Linked DNA regions of Homo sapiens: regions 2 and 3 are each linked to region 1. The links are contacts of gene promoters, found by promoter capture Hi-C in human tissues and cell types (Jung and others, 2019). All regions are on one chromosome and are shown on one strand. The core of a region is centred on a gene start or on the middle of the fragment in contact, and the rest is flanking DNA. Distances in the headings are between cores, read along the strand shown. Region 1 holds the start of WDR25 (WD repeat domain 25). Region 2 holds the start of DYNC1H1 (dynein cytoplasmic 1 heavy chain 1). Region 3 has its middle 15 kb from the start of LINC02320.

Region 1 (4,429 bases), core at 893-3,392:
AGCAAAACTGCCTACTCCACAGCAGATCACAGCAGACCTTCAAGGAGAAAGCTAAAAAGCCTCTTGAAAATTAACCCCCAGTTCCCCCTTTTCAAGAACTTGAATCTTGTGCTCATTCTGAAAGTTTCCACTGTGGTGGAGGAGCATAATAGGCACTTAAAGAAACTGGGTATTGTATTGGGATGAGGAGTGGAAAGGACTATAGAATTGTTTAACAGAACAACATGATAAAGACTTGGGTTGCATCAAAATCATCTCACAGAGATCAGGGCACGCTGATTCTGCAATCTGGGGAAGGGTGGCATCAAGACAGCCAATTCTGGAGCAGGTGAGAAGAGAATGTGGCCCAGGAGTGTTTCTGGATCCCTGGAATACCACCAGGAGGTAGAATACCATCCTTTCTATCTTGGCCCCAGAGTGTAGGTGACAATACCTTTGGACTGGCAAGTTCCCAGAGGACAAGAAAATGACTTCTTTAGAGCAAGGATTTCTTGACACCTTTTGGGACCCATCATGTTCCATTTTTTTTAAACACTAAAAGAAAGATTGCTTTCCCCGCCAAATAACAGCATGAACATTATCTTAAAAGGCAAAGACATTAATTTCTATGAAGCCAGGCACGAGACACTTTTGGGTGTCACAATAAGAATGACAATACGTTCTGATGTTGAGCACAGAAGGAGGGTGCATCAGTGAAAATTATGACAGACAGCATGACGGTGCTGAGAGGCAAGCTACGGATCCAAGCCCGCGACTGCTCAGCCAGGATCTCTGTTCCCTATGGGAGCAGTGAATCACCTGAACTTTGGGTCAATGGAAGAAGTAAAATGCATAACACCCTAATCCTAAGACACAAGTCCTGACCCCCTAAACCAAGGTTTTCAGCACTTTGCTAAAAACACGAACAAGCTCTAAGCCTGGCAAAGATGGCAATACATACCCAGGTTGTGGAAGACACTGCAGAGGTGGCCACTGGTCACGCTGGGCAGTTGAGCTGCTGAGAGTGCCCTGCCCAGCCAGAAATGGTCTTTAATACTCTTCCCCTCTTTCTTTCAGTTTCCCTTCTGAAAAAAGATGCTTTTGTCTTTCGTTCTCCCCACCCTGCATTCAGCTAAGGGTTTCTTATAAATCACCCAGATTCTCAGAAACACTTGAGCTCTTGACCAACCTTCTTGATGAGACTGTCCAATCAGGGGTGGGTTGCCTGGGGGGCCAGGTTGAGACCAATGAAACCCTCTTGAGAATCGAGCCATTAGCTGGTCATTGCATCAGCCACCCCTCACCCCCCGCTGGCCTCCAAATAACCTCCCCACCCTCTTCCCGTTCCCCACCCTCAGCGTCAGTGTGACTGATTTTGTGTAGTCGTGGGCGGTGGAAAGAGAAACTGTAAATTCCCCGCATCTGTTCACCGAGGCGGCACAGTGCAGTGGAAAGATCAGGAGTTCTGGGGTCACAGACGCCTGGGTTTCAATCCCAGCTTGGACTTATTCGAAACCTTGGGCAAGGGTCGCATTACTTTTCTGCTTCCCCTTCGGTTTCCTCATCTGTGGAATGGGCATGGAGAAGCCTGCTAACATTACCGTTGAGGGGACTAAGTGCAACACTACGCAAAGCCTCTGGCACATGGCAGGCGCTAAATAAAAATGGGGGCCTCTCTCCTCGGGAAAAGCGAACAGGCGGAGACGATGAAGGGTGCCAGTGGGAAAGGGAGACGGGGTGGGTCGGCGGCGCTCAGAGGAAAGGGGCGAGGGGTCGGTGGCAGGCTCCGCGCCTCACAGTGCCAGAACGCGGCGGGCAGCAAGCCGGGCTCTAAGGATACTCCCGGGAGGGCCAGGCCACTGGGCGCCGCGCCAGCGTCCCTCCATCACTCCCTCCCTTGTTTCCTCACTCCGCCCCGGCCTTACTCCCCTCGCTTACCCTGCCCAGCCGGGCCAGTCAGCGCTCCCGGCTCAGCAACCGGCTGTCTCCTGGGCGTCCGTGGAAACGCCGTCCGGACGGAACAACTTCCGGCCCGACGGCGCCGTCATTGGCTGTTCGCGCGGGGGCGGGGCAGAGGCCGCCACTGATTGGCTGGCGGCCGCGGCGTCGCGTCGGAACGTGACTGGATGGTAGTGTGCTGGCCGGTCTGCCTCCGGGAGAACCGAGCGCTTCCGGTGCGTGTGGTGAGCGGCGGGCCCCGGGCTGGAGGGGCCGGGACTGGGCAGCGCCTAAAGCGCCCCGTGCCGCTTAACGCGGTCTCTCATAGCCGCTCGCCTTCCTTTCACTTCCTGTTCCTTCAGAAAGCGCTGTGCCTTGGACCAACCTTACTTCTTACTATTGACAGCTCAGCTAACTCCTATTCATCCTTCAAAACCCATCTCTGGTCGTATCTTGTTTGTTGCTTTCATCGCTCTGGGGCCTCCGGGGGGATCTGTGTTTTGTGTTTGATTTCCACCCACACCAGACCCAGCATAGGGCTTGACAAAGAGTACGTAATCAGGAAATGTTTGTTGAATGGGAATATCCTATTTCTTTTACTTCCTAGCATCTCCCCCTCCCACCCGTTTGCATTCCAGAAATATTTTTAGACGCTGGGCATTGAATAGTGAACAAAACACAGAAAGTCCTGTCCTCATGGGGCTGACTTGCTGATAGTGACTGTCAGAGTCACTCGCTCCTTCCTTAGACTCTTCTCCAGTGTCCCTGCCTTCCCTTCCATCTTACTGTCTGTTCCTCTTCGTTTAATCCCTCATCTCCTTCCAGAGGGAGCACGGGCACCCTGGTGGTGGGAATCTGGGTGCATGGTGGGTGGTGCCTGGGCAGAGGAGTTGAGAGTGGCCTCGGGACCAGGCTTAGCATTTAGAGAACAGAAATGCCAAATTATTTGCAGTGCACGGTTCCATTAGTTTATAATTAGTCTTTCATATTATATTAGTTCCATTGGAGATGAGCTGGCTGGCTGGCTTTAGAAGTTGTTGTTGTTGTTGTTGTTTTTTGAGACCAAGTCTCGCTCTGTAGCCCAGGCTGGAGTGCAGTGGCGTGATCTCCACTCACCGCAACCTCCGCCTCCCGGGTTCAAGCAATTCTGCGGCCTCAGCCTCCAGAGTAGCTGGGATTACAGGCGCGCACCACTGCACACGGCTAAATTTTTTTTTTTTTTGTATTTTTAGTAGAGACGGGGTTTCACCATGTTGGCCAGGCTGGTCTTGAACCCCCGACCTCAGGTAATCCGCCCTTCTCGGCCTCCTACAGTGCTAGGATTACAGGCGTGAGCCACCGCGCCCGGTCGTTTTATTTAAACTCTGGCTTTGCGTGTGGAAGTTGTTACCTGCCTGGAATGGGCTGCGAACGGGGGCGGCATTACTAGAGGAGGCTGACTACAGACATTTATGGAATGATGACCTGACTTGTAGACCAGTGGAACCCTCAGGCGAATGATGCCACTTGGGGGAAAGGTGTGGAAGAGGTTGGGTGGTTGATTCCAGGGGACATAGAAACCCATTGTCTAGAAGAAGAGATGGGTAATAGGCTGTCTGGAATGACTTAGAAAAGGACTTGGAGGGAATCTGTTGATGCTGACCTGACTCCACCTGTTGGGGGATGGAGGCGGAGCTTGGCGTGTTTGATTAAGGTTGGGTGCACTGGGTTTTCTTGGAAGTCGGTCTATTGCCTGAGCGTTCTGTGCTGTTCCACCGCGCCCTCTGCTGTCCTAGGAGTGCCTAGCACCCTTCTTTTTCTCTGGATTGTGCTTGGTGCTAACAGCACAGAAGTAAAAAATTACCAAAGCACTTCTTTCTGGGAACTAATTGATAACCATGTATTGTGTATGATGGTTCAGAATTTCAGAAAGATTTTTTTTTTTTTTGAGACGAAGTTTCACTCTTGTCGCCCAGGCTGGGGTGCAATGGCGCGATCTTGGCTCACTGCAACCTCTGCCTCCTGGGTTTAAATGATTCTCCTGCCTCAGCCTCCCGAGTAGCTGGGATTACAGGCGTGTGCCACCACGCCCGGCTAATTTTTGTATTTTAGTAGAGACAGGGTTTCACCATGTTGGCCAGGCTGGTCTCGAACTCGACCTCAGGTGATCCGCCCACCTCGGCCTCCCAAAGTGCTGGGATTACAGGCATGAGCCACTATGCCCTGCCCAGAAAGATTTTTTTTAACAAGTAGAAATTCATTGCAGTGTGAATCTGTGTGTTGGGAGTGAAATGGGTGGATTTGGATCATGCCCTCAGAATTGCTCCCTGCACACTTGGGTAGACGGACACCTCAGGACCTTAGCCTTGTGCTGTGGGCCTGTCTGTCCAGCTGGCTGCTACAGAGATGGGATACCTGGGGGAAGAATGTTCCAGGCAGGCCGGGCGCGGTGGCTCACGCCTGTAATCCCAGCACTTTGGGAGGCCGAGGCGGGCGGATCACGAGGTCAGGAGATCGAGACCATCCCGGCTAA
Region 2 (4,429 bases), core at 986-3,485, 1.6 Mb after region 1:
AGTCCTGTGCCAGGAGGCAGAAGGGGCACCTTGAAAGAAGCTCCCCACACCCTTCAACCCTGGCACAGCCCAGCCAGCCACCCAGGTAATGCACTTAAAGTGCTCAGCACCCAGTCAGCGTTGACCACTCTTCTCGTTATATATTAAATACAACAAACATCTTTCAAGAACAAAAAGCAAGCATGTTTGGTCCATTCATGAATCCTTGTACACTGATTGTTCGGGTTCTTTCAGTTCCCATCCACTTAGAAATAACAAACATGTTTCATTTTGAGCCTATCCTACAGGGCCGCAAATCCGGAGCCTGCAGTTTGTTCTCTTGGCCTGGGGCCAGGTTGCAGATGTTTGAGTCCCTTGGATCCCTGAGTGGCTGCGTCTCCCAGTCTGGTGCTGACTCATGGTGCAGCCAGCATGCAGCCTGCCCATCGGCCAGGTCCCTGCAGGTTTCTGAGTCTCAGATGGTGGATGGCCTATTCAGAGTTCACAGATCTGCACCTAATAGACTTTCCTCTTTGTCCCTCTTTCTACCCCTAAAGTACATGTGAGGGGAAACCCTCTGCATGGTGCCTAGCACGCAGTGAACACTCAGCGTTCGCTGTCAGTGGTGTGTTATTATTATTCATTACCATTAGGATCCTTGCACAAACTCATCGCAGTTGCCTATTTATTTTTTCCAGGAAGATTACTCGGAACTGCTTAGGCACATCACACCAGGGCGGACTGATGGAGAGCAGGAAGATGGGGTATTCATCTGTCCCCTCTTCCACATGCTCCTTAAAGACAAGAATCATCTGATTAGTCTCCGTGTTCCAGCAACCCCCTGGGACCCAGCAACCGGTAATTAGGCAAGGAATAAGCTTATTGTATGTTTCACAGTTTTTCAAAGATGATTTGGGAGAATCAAATCATACCATCATCATTCCACCAATCAGGACTCGGCACTCTGACAGTGCACTTTGATGTTTAAAAAAAACAAAAAAACCAAAAAAAAAAAAAACGCCATTGGCTTCCCTCTCTCCACCCAACTTAAGAAAGAAGTTATGAATGTGAACTTTCAAAGGCCAATTACTACCCCTTAGAAGAACCTACCATCTCTAAACTACAAAGATGGGCAGCCTGGATTCTATTATTTTTATTATTTTACAAAATTCTTAATTTTTAAATACACATAGATATAGGGTCTCGCTAGGTTGACCAGGCTGGTCTTGGAACTTCTGGCCTCAAGCAATCCTCCCATCTCAGCCTCTCAAAATGCTAGGATTACAGGTGTGAGCCACCGCACCCAGCTGGGCAGCCTGGATTCTGGCTCTTATGTAGTCATGGTGTAGGGGAGGAGGTCGTGGTGGGTCCGAACTAGGGGGAAACTTGGTGGGCAGGCAACCCAGCCCCTGCCTTGTACGGACCCAGATACTGAGGCCCACAGAATGACAGTGCCAGCTCTAGGGGGCTGGAGGAGAGCCATTGCTGGAGGTAGCTGTTCTCAGTAGGTCTCCCTCTTGGTCCTCACAGCGTCCTCGGGGACAATGATTTTTGTCATTAGGAACCAGATCCCATCACAGCTTGGCTTTACGTACAGTGAAGGTGTCATTCCTGGCTTAACCTTACACTGCCCCGAAGGCCCCCTCCCCAGCTGTCCGTTTCCAGCCTGGCAATGGGACTCTCTGAGCACGCCCCTCATCTCCTCCCCCTCTGAAAAGTATCCTCAATCTCCCGGTCTATATCTAATAACACATCTGTCGTGCCTATATTTTGGTACCTGATACGTAGTCATTCATTCATTCAATGAGAGAACATTTAATGAGAGGTTAAGGGGCTTAGAACAACGCCGGGCACAGGCTAAGCGCTCACTAAACGTTAGCTCTCGCCAATAACATCACTGATTCACTATAAAGTTTCTCTGGCTGTGTGCTATTCGCTGCGTCCACAGCAGTGAAGAAGACAGACGCAGCCCCTGACCAACCTCGCCAAGCCCGGGCGCCGAGCCAGGACGTTGAGCCAAGTCCCCATCTCCTAGGACTCGCAGTGCGGAGGCTGCGGGCCCCGACCAGCGCCGAGACTACAAGTCCCAGAAGGGCGCGCGGCGACATCGCCGGGCCCGCCCCCCGCGCACGCGCGGCGCCGTGACGCTAAGGCCGCGAGCGAGCGCGGGTGGCTGCGGCGGCTGCGGCCGGCGGGGCGGGGCGGGGCCACCTGGCAGTGGCTGCCTTTAGGGCGGAGCCGGCTCCCGCTCTCCTCAGTCTGCGGTGGGCTAGCGGACGGTCCGGCTTCCGGCGGCCGTTTCTGTCTCTTGCTGGCTGTCTCGCTGAGTCGCGGCCGCCTTCTCATCGCTCCTGGAAGGTCCCGAGCGCGACACCATGTCGGAGCCCGGGGGCGGCGGCGGCGAGGACGGCTCGGCCGGATTGGAAGTGTCGGCCGTGCAGAATGTGGCGGACGTGTCGGTGCTGCAGAAGCACCTGCGCAAGCTGGTGCCGCTGCTGCTGGAGGACGGCGGCGAGGCGCCGGCCGCGCTGGAGGCGGCGCTGGAGGAGAAGAGCGCCCTGGAGCAGATGCGCAAGTTCCTTTCGGACCCGCAGGTCCACACGGTGCTGGTGGAGCGCTCCACGCTCAAAGGTGCGGGGCCGCGGAGGGCAGGGTCGCCAGAGCCAGGCCTCGCGGAATGCAGGGCCTGCCAGGTCCTCCGGGGTCGCAGATGTCCCCGGGATGGGAGGAGCCCGGCAGCTGCAGATGACCCCTGGATGGGCAGAGCCCGGCGGCCGCAGACGTCCCGCCGGCCGGGTCCCCAGGGCCGCAGACGCCCCGCAGAGGCCGGCGCGGCGCCCGGGGCTCGCCCTCGCCACACCCACTGCCCGGCCCGGAGCCCCCAGGGCGCCCCGCTCCTGGTCGCGGGGAGGGGAAAGGGGTCCCCGTCTGCCGTCACCCAAAACAATGGGGTCGCTTTGTCTGCTCGGGCCTCTCAAGATGGCCGAGTTGGGTGGAGACAGCGTCTCCCTGGGCTGAGAGCGGGCGAGGCCGCATCCCTGCCTCCAGTGTCACATGAGCTTTTCGGTTTCGATTTGTGTCCAAGCCAAGTGGCCTTCGGGAGGGATGTGTCGGGGGCAGACCCGCGGAGCTGGGGGCAGCCGGGGTTCTGGTTCGGGAGGAGGTCGGGCGGGTGTCCCAGCCCTGCCTTGTGGGGACCCAGAGGCCGAGGCCCACAGAGCGACGGTGCCAGCCCCGGGCCTGCGAGCATCACTGTTGTAGGTGGATGCTCTCACAGCATCCTTGCTGAACGGGTGTATCCTGATTTTACACCTGAGGAAACTGAGGCTCAGGTTAAGTGATTTCACCCAAGGTCACCAGCTAATCTTAGTCCTGAGACTAGACTCAGTGTCTCAGCTCCCCATCCACTGCTTGTTTTCACTGATCATACCTCATATTTGTTTAATGCTTCGATGATGTTAATGATAACCCTGTAATATTTGAGTCTAATTTTACAGATTAAAAAAAAAAAAAAAGATTCAGGTTAGGCACCTAGTAGGGGGAAGAGGCTAGAGTTAGCGTGTTCCAGCTGTCTCCTCAAATAATGATCGCCCACCAGCAAGGTTACATTCATCTAAGTCTGGGGCTTGCCTGCAGGCAGGCTTTCTCATGGATTCATTACAACCACTTTGTAGCCCATTACAACCACTTTGGGTGTGGCGTGTCCATCTAAGAACCTAAGGATGATGTCCAAGGTTAGCCTCTAGGGATTGGAGATTGTCTAAAAATATTTGCCAACAAGCTTCTTAAAATTTCAAAAAACTGTATGGTTCTCTCAGTGAGAGACCCTGTACTGTCTGCCCCATCCTTAACACACACTGTGTTTCTGATGGTTTGTTTCTTTCAAAGGCTATTCTTACTCAGAAGATGCTTCCCTGTAGCCTTGGTTTCCTGCCAGAGATTAGCAGGGTGTAAAAGAATATTTTTTTCTTATATCCACGTGGAATGTTCAAGGCAAATAAACCATTTGAGCATATTTAGAGTATTAATGTTTTTGAGGGTTGTTTACTGTGATGTTTGGGATTATGTATTCCTAAGTGGAAGCCACAAAAGTTAAAAAAAAAAAATTTATCTACTCTTTTTTTTTTCCAAAAAACATATAGTCATTGTAGAAAATGTACTATACAGCTAAAGTAAAAATCACTGGGAATTGTTTGACCCAGATATAATCACTGTCAGCATTTTTGGTTTATGTCTTTGTGGTCATTTTTCAATGCATATTCGTCATTTTATTAAAATACATTTTAATCTGCATTTTTAAAGTTAATTGTATTTTGAGTAGCTTGACCATTGCTAATCCTTGATATTTTTATTGCATAGTTTATGTATTAGAATCAGTGATTTTATTTTTTTTACCTTGTGTCACTCTTTTTATGAAAAAAAATTTAAGTTTTATACTTTGCTTCTAGAG
Region 3 (4,429 bases), core at 907-3,406, 1.4 Mb after region 1:
CCAAGACCACTAATGAAAGCTGAAAACTAGCATCCTTGCTTCCTCTGCCCACCCCATCCCATCCCACCTTCACATACATCCGCCCACACCCATTAGCCAGAGCATTCCTTTGATGGCCTAAGTTAGATGTCGTCTATGCCCCAGGGCCTTTGCACCAGCTGGTCCTCAGGTGCCAGTGCTCTCTCCCAGTGTCTCACGTGGCTGACTCCTTTGTCAGGTCCCAGTTCAAATTTACCTTCTCAGAGCAACCTTCCCTGACCATCGTAGCTAATATAGCCAACACCCTCTAGCAGGCACCCCATAGAGTCTAATCCAGCTTTGTCCATAGAATTTTCTGTGACAATAAGACTCTTCTGTGTCTATGCTGTCAACTCGCCACATGTGGCTATAAGCACTCAAAATACGGCTAGTGTTAATTAAACATGGAATTTTACATTTTATTTCATTTTTTATTATACATAAGTTCTAGGGTATATGTGCACAATGTACAGGTTTGTTACATAGGTATACATGTGCCATGTGGGTTTGCCGCACCCATTAACTCGTCATTTACATTAGGTATTTCTCCTAATGCTATCCCTCCCCCTGCCCTCCACCCCACGACAGGCCCTGGTTTGTGATGTTCCCCACCCTGTGTCCAAGTGTTCTCATTGTTCAATTCCCACCTATGAGTGAGAACATGCAGTGTTTGGTTTTCTGCCCTTGTGATAGTTTGCTCAGAATGATGGTTTCCAGCTTTATCCATGTCCCTGCAAAGGACACGAACTCATCCTTTTTTATGGCTGCATAGTATTCCATGGTGTATATGCGCCATTTTCTTAATCCAGTCTATCACTGATGGACATTTGGGTTGTTCCAAGTTTTCGTTATTGTGAATAGTGCCGCAATAAACATACGTGTGCATGTGTCTTTACAGTAGCATGATTTATAATCCTTTGGGTATATACCCAGTAATAGTATCTCTGGGCCAAATGGTATTTCTAGTTCTAGCTCCTTGAGGAATTGCCACACTGTCTTCCACAATGGTTGAACTAGTTTACACTCCACCAACAGTGTAAAAGCGTTCCTATTTCTCCACATCCTTTCCAGCATCTGTTGTTTCCTGACTTTTTAATGACTGCCATTCTAACTGGTGTGAGATGCTGTCTCACTGTGGTTTTGATTGCATTTGTCTGATGACCAGTGACGATGAACATTTTTTCATGTGTCTGTTGGCTGCATAAATGTCTTCTTTTGAGAAGTGTCTGTTCATATCCTTTGCCCACTTTTTGATGGGGTTGTTTTTTTTCTTGTAAATTTGTTTAAGTTCTTTGTAGATTCTGGATATGAGCCCTTTGTCAAATGGGTAGATTGCAAAAATTTTCTCCCATTCTGTAGGTGGCCTGTTCACTCTGATGGTAGTTTCTTTTGCTGTGCAGAAGCTGTTTAGTTTAATTAGATCCCATTTGTCTATTTTGGTTTTGTTGCCATTGCTTTTGGTGTTTTAGTCATGAAATTGCACATGCCTATGTCCTGAATGGTATTGCCTAGGTTTGCTTCTAGGGTTTTTATGGTTTTAGGTATAACATTTAAGTCTTTAATCCATCTTGAATTAATTTTTGTATAATGTGTAAGGAAGGGATCCAGTTTCAGCTTTTTACATATGGCTAGCTAGTTTTCCCAGCACCATTTATTAAATAGGGAATCCTTTCCCCATTTCTTGTTTTTGTTGGTTTGTCAAAGATCAGATGGTTGTAGATGTGTGGTGTTATTTCTGAGGCCTCTGTTCTGTTCCATTGGTCTATCTCTCTGTTTTAGTACCAGTACCATGCTGTTTTGGTTACTGTAGCCTTGTAGTATAGCTTGAAGTCAGGTAGCGTGATGCCTCCAGATTTGTTCTTTTGGCTTAGGATTGTCTTGGCAATGCAGGCTCTTTTTTGGTTCCATATGAACTTTAAAGTAGTTTTTTCCAATTCTGTGAAGAAAGTCATTGGTAGCTTGATGGGGATGGCATTGAATCTATAAATTACTTTGGGCAGTATGGCCATTTTCACGATATTGATTCTTCCAACCCATGAGCATGGAATGTTGTTCCATTTGTTTGTATTCTCTTTATTTCCTTGAGCAGTGGTTTGTAGTTCTCCTTGAAGAGGTCCTTCACATCCTTTGTAAGTTGGATTCCTAGGTATTTTATTCTCTTTGTAGCAGTTGTGAATGGGAGTTCACTCATGATTTGGCTCTCTGTTTGTGTGTTAATGGTGTATAGGAATGCTTGTGATTTTTGCACACTGATTTTGTATCCTGAGACTTTGCTGAAGTTGCTTATCAGCTTAAGGAGATTTTGGGCTGAGAACAGTGGGGTTTTCTAAATATACAATCATGTCATCTGCAAACAGGGACAATTTGACTTCCTCTTTTCCTAATTGAATACCCTTTATTTCTTTCTCTTGCCTGACTGTCCTGGCCAGAACTTCCAACACTGTGTTGAATAGGAGTGGTGAGAGAGGGCATCCCTGTCTTGTGCCACTTTTCAAAGGGAATGCTTCCAGTTTTTGCCCGTTCAGTATGATATTGGCCGTGGGTTTGTCATAAATAGCTCTTATTATTTTGAGATACATTCCATCAATACCTAATTTATTGAGAGTTTTTAGGATGAATGGTTGTTGGATTTTGTCAAAGGCCTTTTCTGCATCTATTGAGATAATCATGTGGTTTTTGTCATTGGTTCTGTTTATGTGATGGATTGCATATATTGATTTGCATATGTTGAACCAGCCTTGCATCCCAGGGATGAAGCTGACTTGATCGTGGTAGATAAGCTTCTTGATGTGCTGCTGGATTCAGTTTGCCAGTATTTTATTGAGAATTTTCACATCGATGTTCATCAGGGATATTGGTCTAAAATTGCCTTTTTTGTTGTGTCTCTGCCAGGCTTTGGTATCAGGATGATGTTGGCCTCATAAAATGATTTAGGGAGGATTCCCTCTTTTTCTATTGATTGGAATCGTTTCAGAAGGAATGGTACCAGCTCCTCTTTGTACCTCTGGTAGAATTCAGCTGTGAATCTATCTGGTCCTGGACTTTTTTTGGTTGGTAGGCTATTAATTATTGCCTCAATTTCAGAGCCTGTTATTGGTCTATTCAGAGATTCAACTTCTTCCTGGTTTGGTCTTGGGAGGGTGTATGTGTCCAGGAATTTATCCATTTCTTCTAGATTTTCTAGTTTATTCTCTGATGGTAGTTTGTATTTCTGTGGGATCTGTGGTGATATCCCCTTTATCATTTTGTATTGCATCTATTTGATTCTTCTCTCTTTTCTTCTTTATTAGTCTTGCTAGTGGTCTATCAATTTTGTTGATCTTTTCAAAAAACCAGCTCCTGGATTCATTGATTTTTTGAAGGTTTTTTTGTGTCTCTATCTACTTCAGTTCTGCTCTGATCTTAGTTATTTCTTGCCTTCTGCTAGCTTTTGAAGTTTGCTCTTGCTTCTCTAGTTCTTTTAATTGAGATGTTAGGGTGTTGATTTTAGATCTTTCCTCTTTCTCTTGTGGGAATTTAGTGTTAAAAATTTCCCTCTACACACTGCTTTAAATGTGTCCCAGAGATTCTGGTACATTGTGTCTTTGTTCTCATTGGTTTCAAAGAACATCTTTATTTCTGCCTTCATTTCATTATTTACCCAGTAGTCATTCAGGAGCAGGTTGTTCAGTTTCCATGTAGTTGTGTGGTTTTGAGTGAATTTCTTAATCCTGAGTTCTAATTTGATTGCACTGTAGTCTAAGAAACAGTTTGTTGTGATTTCTATTCTTTTACATTTGCTGAGGAGTGCTTTACTTCCAACTATGTGGTCAGTTTTGGAATAACTGTGATGTGGTGCTGAGAAAAATGTATATTCTGTTGATTTGAGGGGAGAGTTCTGTAGATGTCTATTAGGTCTGCTTGGTGCAGAGCTGAGTTCAAGTCCTGGATATCGCTGTTAACCTTCTGTCTCATTGATCTGTCTAATATTGACAGTGGGGTGTTAAAGTCTCCCATTATTATTGTGTGGGAGTCTAAGTCTCTTTGTAGGTCTCTAAGGACTTGCTTTATGAATCTGAGTGCTACTGTATTGGGTGCATATATATATTTAGGATAGCTCTTCTTGTTGAATTGAATTGATCCCTTTACTATTATGTAATGGCCTTCTTTGTCTCTTTTGATCTTTGTTGGTTTCAAATCTGTTTTATCAGAGACGAGGATTGCAACCTCTGCTTTTTTTTTTGCTTTCCGTTTGCTTGGTAGATCTTCCTCCTTCCCTTTATTTTAAGCCTATGTGTGTCTCTGCACGTGAGATGGCTCTCCTGAATACAGCACACTGATGGGTCTTGACTCTTTATCCAATTTGCCAGTCTGTGTATTTTAATTGGGGCATTTAGCCCATTTACATTTAAGGTTAATATTGTTATGTGTG

Evidence for each region. Contacts are between HindIII fragments. The study calls those that stand out against the background at their distance.
Region 2: the fragment with the promoter of DYNC1H1 here is called in contact with the fragment with the promoter of WDR25 in region 1 in 1 of the 25 tissues and cell types used here (mesenchymal stem cells).
Region 3: a fragment that was not itself captured here is called in contact with the fragment with the promoter of WDR25 in region 1 in 1 of the 25 tissues and cell types used here (dorsolateral prefrontal cortex).

What each region holds. Positions count from the first base shown.
Region 1 is chr14:100,374,343-100,378,771 of GRCh38, forward strand. WDR25 (WD repeat domain 25) reads left to right here and starts at 2,143. Exons shown (of 7, transcript NM_001161476.3): 1 at 2,143-2,153. It overlaps WARS1 (tryptophanyl-tRNA synthetase 1), which reads right to left and starts at 1,005. Exons shown (of 11, transcript NM_004184.4): 1 at 941-1,005. RefSeq lists enhancers at 957-1,096, 1,107-1,466 and silencers at 1,977-2,036, 2,227-2,276. The HindIII fragment of the contact is 17,907 bases long and covers 1-4,429 here.
Region 2 is chr14:101,962,338-101,966,766 of GRCh38, forward strand. It overlaps DYNC1H1 (dynein cytoplasmic 1 heavy chain 1), which reads left to right and starts at 2,236. Exons shown (of 78, transcript NM_001376.5): 1 at 2,236-2,610. The coding sequence starts at 2,355. RefSeq lists enhancers at 1,789-1,928, 1,973-2,583, 2,584-3,193 and silencers at 2,069-2,228, 2,719-2,928. The HindIII fragment of the contact is 2,222 bases long and covers 87-2,308 here.
Region 3 is chr14:101,743,798-101,748,226 of GRCh38, forward strand. No RefSeq gene overlaps it. Among named protein-coding and RNA genes, the nearest start is that of LINC02320, 15 kb to the left of the region's middle. The HindIII fragment of the contact is 7,602 bases long and covers 1-4,429 here.